Linked DNA regions of Homo sapiens: region 2 is linked to region 1. The links are contacts of gene promoters, found by promoter capture Hi-C in human tissues and cell types (Jung and others, 2019). All regions are on one chromosome and are shown on one strand. Each heading gives the region's core, a stretch centred on a gene start or on the middle of the fragment in contact. The rest is flanking DNA. Distances are from core to core; before and after follow the strand shown.

What was found. The method cuts DNA at HindIII sites, captures the fragments that hold promoters and counts their contacts. A contact is called where the count stands out against the background at its distance.
Region 2: a fragment that was not itself captured here is called in contact with the fragment with the promoter of NOG in region 1 in 1 of the 25 tissues and cell types used here (lymphoblastoid cells).

Annotation. Positions count from the first base shown.
Region 1 is chr17:56,592,366-56,595,075 of GRCh38, reverse strand. It overlaps NOG (noggin), which reads right to left and starts at 1,377. Exons shown (of 1, transcript NM_005450.6): 1 at 1-1,377. The coding sequence starts at 852. The coding sequence ends at 154. RefSeq lists a silencer at 2,315-2,524. The HindIII fragment of the contact is 21,510 bases long and covers 1-2,710 here.
Region 2 is chr17:56,554,817-56,557,526 of GRCh38, reverse strand. No RefSeq gene overlaps it. Among named protein-coding and RNA genes, the nearest start is that of NOG, 38 kb to the left of the region's middle. The HindIII fragment of the contact is 5,061 bases long and covers 1-2,710 here.

The DNA.
Region 1 (2,710 bases), core at 128-2,627:
TAGGTCTCTGTAGCCCAGAAAAAAAAAAAAAAAAAAAAAAAAAAGTTCATTGAAAACCCTCGCTAGAGGGTGGTGGAACTGGTTGGAGGCGGTGCAGGGGGCGTCGGTGGGGATCGATCAAGTGTCCGGGTGCGGGCAGGGGGCCCCCGAGTTCTAGCACGAGCACTTGCACTCGGAAATGATGGGGTACTGGATGGGAATCCAGCCGCAGCGCTGGCCCCCGCGCCGCTGACAGCGCCACCGCAGCACCGTGAGGTGCACGGACTTGGACGGCTTGCACACCATGCCCTCGGGCACGGAGCACGAGCGCTTACTGAAGCAGCTGCCCACCTTCACGTAGCGCGGCCAAAAGCGGCTGCCCAGGTCGTTCCACGCGTACAGCACGGGGCAGAATGTCTGCGACCACAGCCACATCTGTAACTTCCTCCGCAGCTTCTTGCTTAGGCGCTGCTTCTTGCCCTGGGCCAAGCCCTCGGAGAACTCTAGCCCTTTGATCTCGCTCGGCATGGCCCCCGACGGCCGCTGCCGCAGCAGCTGGTCCAGCTCCGCCAGGTCCTCCGCGCCCCCAGCTGCACCCCCGCCCCCGCCGGGCCGGTCCTCGGGGGGCGAGGTGGCCATGAAGCCTGGGTCGTAGTGGCCCCCGAGCAGCGAGCGCAGCAGCGTCTCGTTCAGATCCTTTTCCTTGGGGTCAAAGATAGGGTCTGGGTGTTCGATGAGGTCCACCAGGGGCAGGTTGTCGCTGGGTGCCGGGCGGATGTGGAGATAGTGCTGGCCGCCGGCCGGTGTCGCCCGCAGCCCCAGGACCACCACCAGGGCGTAGAGGGTGACCCCTAGGCTGGGGCAGCGCTCCATGCCTCTGGCGCGCGCCCGGGGCTGCTGCTTCGTCCCGCGTCCCCGGAGGAGAGCACGCCGAGCCCGCGGCGCCGCCGCGCTCCCCCGTCTCTCCGGAGGCGGCTCACCCGAGGCTGGGCAGGCGCAGGGCCGGCAGCATGAGCCGCCGGGAGAGCCCTTCGCGCAGCGCCGGCTCCCACCGGGGCGGAAGAAAGGCACACAAGTTGGCCGCAACTCCTCTCCCGGGTCTACTGGGGAAGGCGGCCGCGGCTGGGCATCCGAAATTACTCCAGGGCGACCGCGGGGCGCGGGAGGCGCCGGCTCCTCGCTGCCTTCCCGGGCCGGCGGCGGCGCAGGGCGCGTGGACGAGCCGCTCTCCCCTCCTCCTCTCGCTGCTCTTCGTCCGGCCGCTCTGTGCAAGCGCCGCTGGCTGAGCTGGTTCTAGGGGCACTTCCCTCCGCCTGCTCCGGGCTCCGCGGCCGGCTCTGCCCGGCGGACTCCAGCGGCGGCGGCGGCGGCGGCGTCCGCGCACGTTGGCACCGGTTTGTCTGTCTCGCAGGGTCCAAGCCTTTAAATTTCCTGCACTTTCAGCTCCATCACCATGGAAACCACTGACTCTCTCGGCGTTGCCCCCTCCCCCTTCTTCCCCCCAAACAACAACCCCACCCCCCACTTCTCCACCCCCGAGGAGCTGGAGCTGCACAGGCTCCGGGGGAAGCCGCCTGTACTCGCCGCGGAGGCGGCGGCGGCGGCTTCGGCAGCGCCCAGGGCTGTGCCCCGCCGGACCCAGATGCCCCGGGAAGCCGACAGTCCGGCTGCCCGCCGGAGCTCACAGGCGGCGGCGGCGGCGGCGGCAGCGGCGGTGGCGGCGGCGGTGGCGCTTGGCAGGTCTCCGCGCAATTTTCTCTCTCCCCCACCACCCACCCCCCTTCTCCTCCTCCTGCAAAATGCACCGCCCCCCTCCTTTCTCCTGGAGCAATGCAACTGGGGCTCTAGGCGCCCCGCCAGGGCCAGTCCTGGGGAAAGCTCGCGGCGGCGCTGGAGCCGGGCTGGAGGGTGCAGAGCCGGTGTTTGGGGAGGGGGGGCGGTGCTTGAGGTGGGGCTGGAGGGTTTCTCACTAGCTGGGTGCTTTGCACTGGGAGGGGAGCAGCGGGGAAGTGCTGGGGGCTCGTTTCTCGGTGCATGCAGTTCGGAGCAAGAAATTTCTCCATGTGCATGGAGCGTTTTCCCCGAGCGCGTCTTCTTCTCTCCCGGGCTCTTGCTCTAAGTCCCCTCCCCCCAACACACATATATACACACACACACACACACACACACACAGCCCCTACCCCACCCCCCTTTGCACCAGGGAGTCCGAGAGCCGCAGCGTTGCGCAGCGTGATGTAATTCTTAGGAAGCACTCCTGTCTGTCTGCCCCTCGGGCCCACGAGGGGGTTCCGCTCCTCACCATCCTCCTCCTCCTTGGCCGGGTCCTGCACCCTGAGTGGCCTAGCCTCAGGGGCGCGACTGGCTCGCCTGCGGCTCCCCTAGCCCGCCCGGCTCCGCGCGGCCGCCGCTCGGCTCCCTGGGGGCGGCGCGCCCTCTGCTGGCCCGCTATGAGCCCTGCACCTGGCGCTGGCGGGGGCGGCCGTGCGAGGTGGGTCGGCCGCTGCCCGCTCTGCCCAGTTCAGCTTCTGCTTCTGTGTCCCTGTCACTTTGTGTGTGTCTGCGTCTGCTGACTGGTCCGTTTTGGTTCTGGCTATTTTCCCGAAGGTCTCCAGGCCCCCAGTGTAAACAAACTTCCTGAGATTCCTTCTCGGTCCCCTCAAATTTCACAAGAATGCGTGCAGCACCTTCTGCCTCAGGTAAATCGGTCTCTGGTCTCAGTGGGTGCGAGTGG
Region 2 (2,710 bases), core at 108-2,607, 38 kb after region 1:
CTTTCCCAGAGTGTTTCGGAGAGACATCTATTATTTTTTTCTGTCCAGCAACCCCCATACCCTGCTTTAAGACATTGTTCCCACTTCCCAATCATGGGACTCGGTGGTACAGCCAATCAGTTTCTCATGCTCCTGAGTGTAAGGGTGGGACATGGTCATGACCTGCCAATCACAGGACTGCATTTCACTGTCAGGAATGGACATTTAACTGCAGTCAGACCCATCAGAATCTTTCCCTGGAACTTTTTTTCTTTTTTTGAGATAGTCTCTCTGTCGTCCAGTCTGGAGTGTAGTGGTACAATGATAGCTCACTGCAGCCTCAAACTCTTGGGCTCAAGCCGTGCTCCTACCTTAGCCTCCTGAGTAGCTGAGACTACAGGTATGCCACCACACCTGGCTAATTTTTAAATTTTTTGTAGAGAGAGGATCTTGCTATGTTGCCCAGGCTGGTCTTGAACTCCTGGCCTCAAGTAATCTTCCCACCTTGGTCTCCCAAAATGCTATGATTACAGCCGTGAGCTACCACACCAAGCCTTTTTTCCTCTTTTTCTTAGGGACTTTGGATTTGAAGGAGAAAGTGGTGCCTTTTATGACAGAGAGCTAGGAGGATATGAATTGGGGATGGCAGGTGGCCATCTTTTTTACAATTTGGTGATGACCTATTTGCAGAATAGGAGAGAATAAGGCAATATGCGGAAAAAGCATCAGTACCAAGCAACGGGGAAAAAGGTGAGAGAGGGTCTTGAGGATTGTGCTTGAATTCCTGGACCTAGGCATGCCTGGAGCCAGGTTCATCCGTGATTTCCCGCTTTGACGGACCAATATAGTCTCCTCATCCTTCTTCTTTAATCCTAAATTAGTCTGAGAGTTCTATCTCAAATAAGGGTCATGGCTTGTGGCCCATCCTCAGGCAAATCAAAACTGTGTTTCTGAGGGGGAGAAGACAGAAACTGGGAAAGAAATTATGAACAGTCATTTTATGAAACCCATGCATGATAATGGTCTGTGGTCCCACCTCTATTCCTTCTCATTAATTTGTTCAGCATACATACATACATTAAATGCCCACTGTGTGCTAAGCTTGTGCCAGGGCTGGGGATATTAAAATGAAGAAGGTGAAATCTCTTGCCCTCAAGGATTTCACAGTCCAATTGGAAGAACAAACAAATAAACAGGCAACAATAACACACGGTGATATGATACAGTACTAGGATTAGACTACAATGCTAGGAAGGAACATTGGCACCCGGGGAACATGGGAAAAGGCAGCTAACTCAGCAGTGAAGGGAGATCAGAGACTTCCAGAAGGAGGCAGCACCTAAGCTGAGCCCTAAGGGACAAAGTCTCCTGGAGATGGAGGTGCAGATGTAGCTGGATGTTCACCAGTAGCTCACCACTCCAAGCACCTTCTGATGGGTTATTATTTCTGAGAATAATGTGGGAGTGCTAGAGAGGAGCAGATATGGTGCTATCCTGAGTTGCACTAAGTAAGTTACAACAGATTTGGTCCCTCTTGAAGTGAAAAATATCCAACAGACTAATTTGGTGAAGACAAAAGAGAGAAAAGACAAAGGAACATACAGCTATAGAATCAAATTTGGCAAATGTGTATCATAGTTTTTGTATCCTCTCTGGTGAGTTCTGAAATGATTGAATGGCCAAACCCCAGGCAGCAATAACCAAGGGTCAGTGGGGGAGAAGGTTGGGAACCATTTGCTTATATGAGAGTGGAACTAACCATAGAATGAGTTTTAAAGGTAGCTTTATTGTTTATTTTTAAAGTTTATTGATTTTTTTTAAATCAGAAAAAAACCCTCAAATCACTCAAAATACGATTACCCAGAGATTTCTACTACTAAGATTTTGCTGAGCTTCACCTAGGCATTTTTCTAAGGATATATTTACATAGATTATTCATACATAGAGATATATGGCTATAATTTAATAAAAATGGGATCGTACTGTGTGTCCATTTACATAATCTTTTTATTACTTGATGACATGCTGTGTTAATCTTTACATTCTAACAAATACAGAACTACACTATCATTTTTAATGGCTGCATAATATTCCATTAAATGGAAGTATTGCACATCAATAAACCCTACTGAACTACTGATGGACACTTAGAGGGTTCCCAAATTTTCACTCGGTTTTGATAGCAGTGCTGTGATAAGCCTCTCTGTAAACACAGTGGAGTTCCTTAGGTTATGCCACACTGGGGACCAGCACAGCATTTTTCAGAAGGTCACTTTATCCTGTGTCTCCTCGAGCGTTGGAACATATTGATTTTCTGCTTGGCTTGCATGTAGGGATTATGTTATAGGTCATGTATCTTTAAACACTAGCCTCACACGCAGCAGGAAGAGATACTTATTCTATGAGAGGCAGTTGGGAACTGAGGCCAGTTTGAGAGATCAAGAGATTCTTTGTCCCCCACATCAAGCTTGCCTTGGACTTAGGCTTATTGGGTGGAAGTATTTCAGAATGACACACACACTACTTAAATGATTTCTCTTTGTCCCTTTTATTTATTTTTATTATTACTATTTTCAAAACTTTAAGCCTGGGTCTCACTATGTTGCCCAATCTCGTCTAAAACCCCTGGGCTCAAGCAATCCTCCTGCCTCAGCCTCTTGAGTAACTGGGATTACCGGCACATGCCACTGTGCCCAGCCTACTTAAATGATTTCTTTTCCTCTCTATGTTG